Regions from separate parts of the Homo sapiens genome. Here region 2 is linked to region 1. The links are contacts of gene promoters, found by promoter capture Hi-C in blood cells and fetal thymus (Javierre and others, 2016). All regions are on one chromosome and are shown on one strand. The core of a region is centred on a gene start or on the middle of the fragment in contact, and the rest is flanking DNA. Distances in the headings are between cores, read along the strand shown.

Evidence for each region. Contacts are between HindIII fragments. The CHiCAGO score rates a contact against its expected background, and 5 or more counts as called.
Region 2: a contact is called between a fragment that was not itself captured here and the fragment with the promoter of APH1B in region 1, in 1 of 17 cell types (naive B cells). The highest score is 5.0, in naive B cells.

The regions. Positions count from the first base shown.
Region 1 is chr15:63,274,181-63,279,931 of GRCh38, reverse strand. APH1B (aph-1B gamma-secretase subunit) reads right to left here and starts at 2,327. Exons shown (of 6, transcript NM_031301.4): 1 at 2,196-2,327; 2 at 601-771. The coding sequence starts at 2,308. LOC124903504 (a long non-coding RNA gene) reads right to left here and starts at 4,826. Exons shown (of 2, transcript XR_007064674.1): 1 at 4,570-4,826; 2 at 3,080-3,914. RefSeq lists silencers at 2,021-2,300, 2,381-2,800. The HindIII fragment of the contact is 9,433 bases long and covers 1,368-5,751 here.
Region 2 is chr15:64,122,676-64,128,808 of GRCh38, reverse strand. SNX1 (sorting nexin 1) reads right to left here. Exons shown (of 15, transcript NM_003099.5): 5 at 5,263-5,306; 6 at 2,589-2,730; 7 at 1,557-1,635; 8 at 1,003-1,078. Among named protein-coding and RNA genes, the nearest start is that of SNX22, 26 kb to the left of the region's middle. The HindIII fragment of the contact is 2,711 bases long and covers 2,728-5,438 here.

The sequences.
Region 1 (5,751 bases), core at 1,078-3,577:
CAGCTACTCGGGAGGCTGAGGCAGGAGAATCGCTTGAACCCAGGAGGCAGAGGTTGCCGTGAGCTGAGATTGCACCATTGCACTCCAGCCTGGGCAACAGGAGCGAAAACTCTGTCTCAAAAAAAAAAAAAAAAAGAATTAACTTAGGTGGTGGCAAAGAGAACATATACATTCTAAGCTGGAATGATTTCTGTAGTTGTTTTAATGCTTCCCTAGCTTGTTTGTCTCCATGACACTTACCTACTATACCAGTGTATTTCTTGTTCATTCATTTATTGTCTGTCTCTTCCTACTATAATATAAGCTCCATGAAGCCAGAGACTCTGTCTTTTAATCACTGATGTATCCCCAGTACCTAGGATAGTGTCTGGGATTGATTCTCAAGAAATATTTTTTTGAATAAAGGAAGAAAGGAAGGAAATAAGAAATTTCCACAAGATAAAAGAACACTCAAGATTTTCAGGCTGGAAATGTACCAATCTCTTGGCTTAGTACTATGTAGGAGGGCATAGATACAATACTATATTCACGTTTCAAATGACCAAATCATAACTAAAATCTAACTGGGGAAAAAAAAGGTAAGGCAGGTATTTAACTTACTTTAAGAGTTTATAATATGCAAATCGGAACATTTCTTGGATATAGACAGAGACAAACGCTCCAAAGATCAGCAGATATTTCTGTGTTGGTCCATCTTTGTTGTCAATAATGACTCTTGCCATGAACCAAACAAGGGACGAAATCAGTAGAGACACCAACCAGAAGAAAGCTCTGAAAAATACGGGAAAAAAAGTTACAAGTGAACATCAGTACAGGATTAATAATGTTTAAAAGCAGGAAAAAAAAAAAAACCTGCTTGAGAAGGAAGAGATTTCTTGACGTTTCAATAAGGAAAAGAAAGTCCTCATAAAGTGATACTCTGATCAGTTGTTCTTAACGGTGCATTTTCCTTGGTGAGACAAACGTGTCCAAGAGGAAGGCTGAGGTTTCCCAACAATTACTTTTTTCAATGACCCTGCTACTTGCAAGTACATCTGCAGACTCTATCTGCCAAGGACTATCTAGCTAGAAACTTGGTTATTTGCTACTCTTTCTAATCAATGCTCTGCCCATTGATGAGCCAAAACAAGAAAATACACAACCCTGATTACTGCAATTTTCATATTCTTAAAACTTACAAGAAATTATGGATTTACTGATCAGATATCTGCAAAGATGAGTATCTTTTCCAGAAAAATATCTACATCTCTATTAATAAAGTGACTGGTATAAAATTCAACTTGAAAACCTGTGTTCTGATCTGGATCAGTATCCAAGCCCTCCAGGTCTTACAGCACCCCTGGGGATTCTAATGATTATAGCAAGCTTTACAGACCCTTCCCAAATCTCTATTATTTTTAAAATGACATGCAGCGAAGCACTTTCAATACGTTTGTGGGAGGTGAAGAAACGCAGAAAAGCGGGAATCATTGGCCTAGTCTGGTGCCAAGAGAGACTCATCAGAGGAGGGGGGATGTGGTATGTGCAAGTAAGAGGCAGGTGATGACTGCGATGGGACACCAGAGTCCGGTATTTACCAAGCTCCCAGAAGGAGACGCACAGTCAGGTGCTTCGGTGTTTTTACAGGTTTCCACCCTTCGGCTGCACAACGGAACCATCCAAAAGGAGCTTAAATTTTTTTTTTTTTTTCTGAAGCCCGAATCCCATCCCCTAGACATTCTGATTCAATGGATCGGGGTGGGGGTGGGCATCGGCATGTTTTAAAGCACCTGGCCACAGGTGATTCTAATAGGCGGAAGTCGCGCACTACTATCCTAAACGCCAATGGTTTTTAACCCTTTGGGGATTACACATGCCTTTGAGAATCTGAGGGAAATTAGGGACTCCCCCTCCAGAAAATGAAGGATGCATATATGAACTTATCCATAATTTTTTTATACAACTTTAGTAGCTTCACGGATCACTAAACCCCACCCATGAGCCCCAGGCAAAAGGCCCTGACCCCCAGTGTGCGCTTCTTCCTAAGAGGGCGAGGCGCCTTTGGGGAGCCGGATCTCCGCTCTCCCCCTCTCAACCCTCCTCCCGTCTGAAACGCAACAAGGTCGAGCCGCGCGGTGGGGGCGCCGAGGGTCGCGGGTAACCCCAGCGGGGGAGGGGAGCCCCGGCGTCCGGGTTTCCCGACGCGACCGCCTCACCCGGCGATGAGGAAGATGATACGCAACGGCTCGGTGGCGATGGTGAAGACATAAAGGGCGAGCGCAGGCCCGAAGGCAATGAAGGCGCAGCCGAAGAACACGGCCGCAGTCATGGCCACCGCGGAAACCGACCCGGGGGCCCGTTGGGGACGCGAGATGCTCCCGGCGCGGGCGGGGTTCGGTGGGTGGGGCTCGGGGTGGGGGGCTAAGCGGGACGCGGGGGGCGGGGCGCGGCTCATGGGCAGGCACGGGGACGGGGGCGGGGCTCGGGGGCGGGGCACGTGGGGGCGGGGGCGGGGCTCGGAGGCGGGGTACGTGGGTCGCGGGGCGAGGCGGGGCGTGGGGGTAAACGCTAGGGCCTGGGGGACTGGGCGGGGCGTGGGCTGAGGGCGCCGGGCGCAGGGGCGGGCTCAAGGCGGTGAGCGCGGACCCCACCGTTGGGCCCTCCGCCCTACCGGGTGTCCGGAAGCGCCAGGGCCACGCCGCAGCTCCTGCTCCCGAGGCGGGCGTCCTCGGCGACGTTAGGGCCCCAGCCATCGCCGCAGCCCCACAGATACACTCCGATCGGGTTCCAGTGCCGGCCGCGAGGTGGTTAAGAGAAGGGAAGCTCCCTAGCCCACCTTCGAGCCGCATGCACCGAGAACAGGCAGAGATTCCAAGTCAACCAAAGAGACTAAACAAAAATGTAGCGCAGGAACAAGCAGGATTCCTTTTTAAATAGGTTTTTTTTTTTTTTTAAGCACATTTTACCGTTTGGATAGTTGCGGGAACTTCGTACTCCATCCTGTATAAAACCTAGGCTGGGATAGCAGTGACCCCGGGGATAACCCACAGATGGTAAAATGATGAAAGAGTGGTGGAAGAAGCTGCCCTTCTCAGGGCTGTTTCAGCCAAATGGTTTTTATTTTTTTCCCAATTCTTCAAAAGGGTTGTTTTTGCAGGCATTCTGTGACCACCCTACAAGCAATAGTAACATCTCCCTGCTCCGTCTTCTCACAGTCGTCCATTTCACTTGCTTATTTTTCTTCCCCGTTAAAACGCGAACTCCTGGGGGACAGGGACTTTGCTTTGCTCTTTGTTGTTTCCTCAGCACCTAGAAGTTCACTAATATCTGTTCAATAAGTGAAATAATTTAAAAGGTGGAAGTTATAAACATCTATATTAACAATTTCTGAAAGGTTTAAAAATTAAAACTTAAGTTCTCTGATCATTCACATCCAAGTTAGATTTTTCTTTATGTTGAATAATACTTCGTCGGTTATTTTGATCAGTGTGCCTGACACAGGTAAGTGCTATGTAAGTATTAACCACTCCTACATAATGTCCATCATGAATAAAGATTTTGGCAATCCACATTTAAAAAAACACCAGTAGACAAATGTTGGGACCTGACAGATGTTTTGCAGCTCGCCCCTGAAAATGCACCTTCAAATAATACAACTGCAGGTATTTAATTCTTACAGAAAAACATTACCTTTGCCCATTTAAAAGTCATATATATTTCCATTCACTCCCACAGAATACTTCTTCAGATTCCAGTGATTGTATTTTGAATGGTCAGATCCCAGCACAATACCTATCAAAACTCGGGTCGAGACAACAGTTCAGAGTGATAGATCTGCTTTGTAAAGATATGGAAAATGAGCTTCCAGACTGGAGGTCCTCAGTGCAACGCAGGCATGAGATGGCAGTGGCCTGATTCAGGGAATTAGCAGGACTCTGGAGGGAAGCAGACAAATTTAATAGAAGTTTAGGAATTGTACAAACAGAATTTAGTGACTAATGAGCTACATAGAGTGAGATGGGGGAAGAGTCAAGGATGAGGGCTTCTAGAGGGTTCGGGCTTAAGTGGATGCTGTGGAGACAGGAGGAGGAGAGAATATGGCAAAGTAGACACGATAATGAGTACCATTTTGTTATTTTGTTGTTACTGTTTTGGAGACATAGTCTCACTCTGTCGCCCAGGCTGGAGTGCAGTGGTGTGATCTCAGCTCACTGCAACCTCTGCCTCCCGAGTTCAAGCAATTATCCTGCCTCAGCCTCCAGAGTAGCTGGGACTATAGGCACGCGCCACCATGCCTGGGTTATTTTCGTATTTTAGTAGAGACAGTGTGAACAATGTTGGCCAGGCCAGTCTCGAACTCCTGGCCTCAAGTGACTTGCCCACCTCGGCCTCCCAAAGTGCTGGGATTACAGGCATGAGCCACCGTGCCTGGCCTTCATTTTGGATGCCTTGAGACTGAGATACTTGTAGCACTCCAAATGGAGGTGTTCAGTAGGCAACTACATATACAGGATCAGGAGAGAAATGGACTGAACATCAGAGCTGAGACCAGAATACCTGAAGCCGTGAGAGTATATAGAATAGAATTACCTAGATAGCTAGTAAAGCCAGAACAAGGCCTATGTCAGAACACCAACATTAAAGGTATGAGGAGAAGAGGAACCTCATAAGAAACTGAAAAGGAGTGGCCAAGAGGGTAACAAGAAAACTGGGGGAATGTGGTGCTGTGGAAGCCAAGGGGAAAACATTTCAGAAAGAAGGGCTGTCGAGAGGTTAAGTAGCCATGCACAGTGGCTCACGCCTGTAATCCCAGCACTTTGGGAGGCTGAGGCAGGCGGATCACTTGAGGTCAGGAGTTTGAGACCAGCCTGGCCAACATGGTGAAACCCTGCCTCTACTAAAAATACAAAAATTAGCTGGGCGTGGTGGCAGACACCTGTAATCCCAGCTACTCAGGAGGCTGAGACAGAAGAATCACTTGAACCTGGGAGGCAGAGGTTGCAGTGAGCCAAGACTGCGCCACTGTACTCCAGCCTGGGCCACAGAGTGAGACTCCTCCATCTCAAAACAAACAAAAAACAAAACAACAACAACAACAACAAAAGCTACCAGTGAATTATGTCCACTGGATTTAGCCATACAGAGGTCATCAGTGACCCAGACATAGGGGTAAAAGGCAGTCTGTAAAATCTTCTCACATTAATGTGTGGTAAGAAAAAAAAGGAAAGAGGAAAAAATGGAGAAATTTAGCTTTAGAGGAGAGGAGACAGGACACCAGCTGAAGGAAGACAGGAAATGGAGGGATCCTCAGAGTACCCACCCAGTTTCCTTGGTAACGAGTGATGCAATTTCGATCCTGCTGTGATGCTGAAGGTCGGAGTGAAGTTACCAGCCCTATAAGAGTCAACCCTAGGACCCAGCTTTCAAGCAGCACTGGTTTTGTTGATGGTACAAGATGAGAGTCTTAACTACATTCTCTTAGAGTTTTTTCAACTTCAGCTTGCACACAATATTCACAAGTAAATTTTTTTAAAGGCAATGCAAGAGGAAGTGGCTGGGTACAGTGGCTCACGCCTGTAATCCCAGCACTTTGGGAGGCTGAGGTGGGCAGATCACTTGAGGTCAGGAGTTTGAGACCAGTCTAGCCAATATGGTGAAACCCCATCTCTACTAAAAATGCAAAAATTAACTGGGCGTGGTGGCATACACCTGTAGTCCCAGCTACTCAGGAGGCGAAGGCACTAGAATTGCTTGAACCCGGGAGGCAGAGGT
Region 2 (6,133 bases), core at 2,834-5,333, 850 kb before region 1:
CAACCCCTACAACAAAGAACTATCTGACCCAAAGTGTCCACAGTGCTGCTACAGACATACCCTGCTTAGGGGTATGGAGTAAAGACGAGAGGGTGAAAAGGCAGAAGGGATTTAAGAATATCCACAAGAAAAGACTAAAAGATTTGAAGCATTTGACAGGGAATTTTTAATGAAAACATTTCATTTTAGAGGAGAAAACCCCCTCATTTATTTAGTATCATTTTCTTCACTGGAGTAACACATACTACATACAAATGAAAGAAAAATTTAAAAATAAAAATTAAAGCAAAATGATAGCCCTACCCAGTCACTTACTTCCTTCTAGTTTGCTTTCCTGTGAGATAAAACATTTCACTCCAGTGTTTCTTTTGATCCTTAATGACTTACATGTTTCTACAGCTGTATTTATATGCTATTTCATGTTTCAAATTTTGTAATTCTTTTAACATACATGTCCATGTACTAACATTTCTGTATACTTTGTTTATGATGAGAATCAAGTATTTGGTTATATTGATATATTTTACTTAATTCTTCCACTGTTAGCAATTGGGCTGTTTTCAGTTTTTGACAATCATGACTAGCCTACGCATAGCCTGTGAAAGAGACTGTCTACTTCAATCAACACTTTTCCTACATGGTAGTTCTGTGGTTTGTGGTAACTGTTAACCAGTGACCCGCCTGGCATAAAATATACATTCAATCTGAGCCAAGAAGTAACCTACAACATGCCAAGGACCTGCCAAATAGATCACTGTGTTGATCCAGTAAGACAATACTAGGCTGCTATTTGACCCTTACAACCAACTGCTTTTGACTTCGGGCAGAGCTTCTTTTATTTCAAAGGCTGAAAAATACTTGTCACTCTCAGGGGTTCACACAAAACTAGGATACAGTCTAGTACTAGGCATGTTAAGTGCTCACATATTTTTGGAATGAACTAGTTTCGTTTCACTAGGGGCAGATATAAATTATGAAATTCAGTTTGCACTGAATACTAACCTCTTCTTTTTCCAAGAACTCTCTGACGTCAGGGTCCTGTAACATGGTAGGATGATTTACAATCCTCTGAAGGTACCTAAAAGGTAAGCAGTTATCATCTGGTTAGTTGAGCTGGCCTCAGAAGGTTCTGGGCGTCACACAGTGCTGGCAGTGATACCATGTCTTCTGTACTTTTTGTACTTAAAGTACCCTAAGATAAGGTACTTAAGTAGGTCTCTCCTTGTAAGCATATTCAAGTTCACATTCCTGACATTTCCAAAAAGGGAGGGAAAAATAACTGGTCAGAAAGAAACCTCAGAGCCATTCATATTTGATTGATTGTCTAAGAATATGACTGCCTGCTCACTCAGGATGGGGAAAAAACAGAAGATGGTCTATTCTCAAGGTGGGAAAATAAGCGACTCAGGAAAAGTTAAGAGATAATATGGAGGTGTGCAACTTCAATTTATTCACGTTTCATCTCTAACTCAATGGACTGTCTCGTCATTTAGACTCACTTTTCAGCTTTTCATTTGTCCTCACATTATTCAGGAAAATGGCTGCATGGCACTTACCTTTCTAAAGCGGCCCTCCGTTTTTCAAGAAATTCTGCAGAAGAAGAATCTTCCTTCCCAACTTTCACTTTTGTCATCCCTAGAATGGAATTTAAAAAGCAAAATAACCATAAATCATCATGAAGAGGATAAATCTTTTTTTTTTTTAAGTGTCAACAGGAGGAAAGGCAGTGAGGCTAGCACACAGCCTAAGGCCACTTCTATGTTATATGCAGGGATGAACAAAAGGTTCTTTACATGAGAGCCACTTTTGAAAACTAGTCTCTAAGTGCTGAAGGTTCTAAACTCTAGGACTTGCAGAGTAAACATTTTCTTAAAAAGGCGGCCATGGAACCCTGAGTACAAACATCAACTGATGTTAATGAAGAGGCTCCTGGCCGGGCGCAGTGGCACACACCTGTAATCCCAGCACTTTGGGAGGCCAAGGCGGGCGGACCACGAGGTCAAGAGATCAAGACCATCCTGGCCAACGTGGTAAAACCCTGTTTCTACTAAAAATACAAAAATTAGCTGGGCATGGTGGCGGGCACCTGTAGTCCCAGCTAAGCGGGAGGCTGAGGCAGGAGAATCTCTTGAACCCGGAAGGTGGAGGTTTCAGTGAGCTGAGATCGCGCCACTGCACTCCAACCTGGTGACAGAGCGAGACTCCACCTCAAAAACAAACAAACAAACAAAAACCAAAAAACCAACCAAACAAACAAACAAAATGAAGAGGTTTCTTCCTCTGACCCCTAATCCAATGTAGTCTATTTCAATCTGGAGGCAACCGCAATCATGTAAGACTCCTGAAGACCAACAGAAAACAAACGAACATCTCTGGAGGCTAAACCCAGAGCTCCTACTGCACCCAAGGAGAACATGCCAAAATATGCTATTTTTCTCTAGACCTCCAGTGTAGGAAAACACTGGAAATGTCTCTTTTCTAACCACAAGACTGTTAATAGAAGTAGTCTCATATACTGAACAGTGAGTGAATTTTGGAGAGAATGCAAAGGAAAACAATCCAAGTGGAATGAAAGACCACAGGCTTACCTATGAGGCTCTTCTCCGGGGGCGGAGGGACAATGAAGCCATTCTGAGAGTGCTTCTCGGAAAGCTTCTCATAAAGACCCAGAAAGTCACTAAATCTTCTTTTTACTGCAAACTGTTTGCTTCTGAACAATGGTAAGCTTGTCTTGGGGACAGGAAAAAACACAAGGCAATTTCATTCCAAATAGGGGATGGTATCTTGAAAGTCATCCTATTGACATTAAAGAAACCCATTTCCCAGATCCCTGCCCTTCAGTCACCTGGCAAATAACTTTCTCCAAGGCAGAGAGTCTTAAACTTTTTAAAACTATAGTTCCCCTTTGGCAGTCTGGGAGCCTAAGGAGCTCTTCTCAGAATAATGATTTTAAATGCAAAAAATATATAGGATTATAAAGGCAATCAATTAAATTCAAATACATCTGAAGCCATGGTGACCCTTGAGAAAAAAAAATTCAAATACAGTTTCATTCCCAGGTTAAGAACTCTTGTTCTAAAGAAAGAAATGTTCAGTTCTAGTTTAAAGCTAGAATTCTATAGTAACCAGTAACCCATTCATCTTTTATTGACTATTTTTTTTTGGAGACAGGATCTCACTTTGTTGCCCAGGCTGGAGTGCATTGGTGCGATCACAGCTTACTGCAGCCTCAAACTCCTGGGCTTAAGCGATCCTCCCACCTCAGCCTCCCAAGTAGCTAGGAATACAGGCACACGCTACCATGCCCAGCTCATTCTTCACTGCTTTTTTTTTTTTTTTTTTTTGAGATGGAGTCTCACTCTGTCACCCAGGCTGGAGTGCAGTGGTGCAATCTTGGCTCACTGCAACCTCCACCTCCCAGGTTCAAGCAATTCTCTTGTCTCAGCCTCCTGAGTGGCTGGGATTACAGGCTCCTGCCACCAGGCCCAGCTAATTTTTATAGTTTTTTAGTAGAGATGGGGTTTCACCATGTTGGCCGGGCTGCTCTCGAACTCCTGACCTCAGGTGATCCACCTGCCTCAGCCTCCCAAAGTGCTGGGATTACAGGCGTGAGCCACTGCGCCAAGCCTCATTGACTTATTTAAGGGTATTAGCTGCTGGAATTACAGCAGCCAAACTAAAGACAGACAAAAAGTGCTTCTAAGAAGGGGAAGCAGGTGATGAGCAGGGTGGGAATTGGATGAAATGTCTAAGCTGTAGACAGTAACCTCTAAAGTATCATAATCTAGAGCTCACAGGACGCAGGCCAACAAGTAGTAGAGAGACAATACAAAGCAGATTTCTACCAAAAAAGTTAGGGCTACATCACAATGAGAGTTCACTTTAAACTCACCAGATAGGCAAAATTTAAGGAGGTTGGCCTCACCAATTGCTGGCAAGGAAGTGAATCAATGGGAACTTTTATACACTGCTGATGGGGTACAAATTGGTACAAAGACTTTAAAAAACAGTTTGTATTCCTTGTGTCCAATATTTGCAGTACCTATGACCCACGGGAATTACTCCTGGTTACATACTCTAGAGAAATCCTTCTACGTGTGTACTAGAGATGTGCAAGAAAGTTCCCAGTTACAAAAACCAGAAACATGTTGACAGCAGAAAATGTTCACAACAGGAAAACATAAATATTTTGTGGTATATGAACTAACTACAGCCATGACCATCAAGGATGGGTGAGAGAAACAATGCTAAATAAAGCAAGCACAATTATCAGCATGATACTATTTTTTTTTTTTTTTTTTTGAGACAGAGTCTCCCTCTGTCGCCCAGGCTGGAGTGCAGTGGCGCGATCTCGGCTCACTGCAAGCTCCGCCTCCCGGGTTCACGCCATTCTCCTGCCTCAGCCTCCCCAGCAGCTGGGGCTACAGGTGCCTGCCACCATGCCCAGCTAATTTTTTTGTATTTTTAGTAGAGACAGGGTTTCCCTGTGTTAGCCAGGATGGTCTCGATCTCCTGACCTTGTGATCTGCCCGTCTCAGCCTCCCAAAGTGCTGGAATTACAGGCGTGAGCCACCGTGACCGGCCCCCATGATACTATTTTTATGAAACTCAAAACAAAGCAAAACAGTCATATATATATATATATATATATATATATATATGTAAAGATTTCTTATAAAGGAAATGAGAGACAACTCAGGAGAAAGGACACCTCTAAGGTATGAGGCAGGGGATATGATGGAAAAACACGCAGGTGGATCCAATGATACTCAACTTTAAGACTAGTGGTAAGTTTAGGGCTTCATTTATTATGCTTCCTAACTTGTATACAACATTGTATACATTTTGTATGCATTAATATTATATACAAAAGAAGAGCAGACTAGAGGGGCAAAAGGTTAAGTATTTAAAAAAGCTCTCTGAAACCTCAGAAGCATTGAAGATTTTAAAAGATGGTTTAGGGCAATCTGTGAATCTAGCTCCAAACCACATGGTTCTCTAAGAGGGATGGGGCTGTATCAGATATACCACGAGTTAATAGAATCACACTGAAATGTTAGCTTTCTGGAAGAGTATTAAAAAGACTCAGTCTGGAGTACCCAGATGAGATTACCAAGGGGATGCAGGCTTGCTCTATCTTGAGTAAACATGAAGATGTTGGCAAAGAAACAAAGGAGATACCCAGAAATAATCTGAATGATGACCTTGGTATAAGCACCAAAGTCTATGAAGATGGTCATCAGCAGGGTCACCTGGACTCACCTGTGTTGTAACTTTGTAGGCTACATATGCATTCATACCATCCCCTGTGAGAGAACAAGAAAGCAGAAGATTATCTTGTAAACCAAAGCAGTGCCAATCCAGCTAACATTTGACCAGGAATCATAAAAGCCATAGGAACCCTGGATAAGAAGGGATGCTTGTTTCATCTCCAAGCTTTATATGCAATCTTAGAATCCAGTTCCTACTTTGCCTCAGGGCCTCTGTGGCACATAGCAAGCCCCCATGGATGCTGGCTGAGCCCCAGTTTGAGTTACACAAGAGAGTCAGCCCTCTGTTCCAAAGCCAGGCCAGGCTCCATTTATACCCTCCACAAAGCAGCACTGGATACTGACAATCCATCAGTTGTTACCATGCCAATATTTGGGCTGGTTACACACATCTGTCCAAAACCAAACAATTCTCTTGCTGTATAAAGCAGGAGGAGAAGGAAGCAACTGATATAAAAGGAAACAAGTAGTTCTACCCTAGGCTAGCTCTGGGCTCGATTTGCTCTTTCAGAAATATCGTCACAACCCCCTCCATTGGTGCCGGGGGGGACACTGACCTCTCTGATCTAGCATGTTCACCAAGAGCAAAGGGTCTGGCAGGAAGACACTTTGGCTGCCTAATGTCACACAAATCTCCCTTTCCTGGAGCAATTATTTTTATGAAGAAGTCTTTGACTGTTAAATAATTTGGGATTCAAGCTATTGTTTTTCTCTGTGGTGATGTCCTGACCTAGACCACTTAAGGAGATAAAGATGCCATTGATATCCTGAGCACTGAAAAGACATATTCTGGAATCCAAACAGACACAGCTCCAGTGCTGGACTATGGTGTTTGGGGTTGGTTTTGTTCCCTGCCTCCCCCA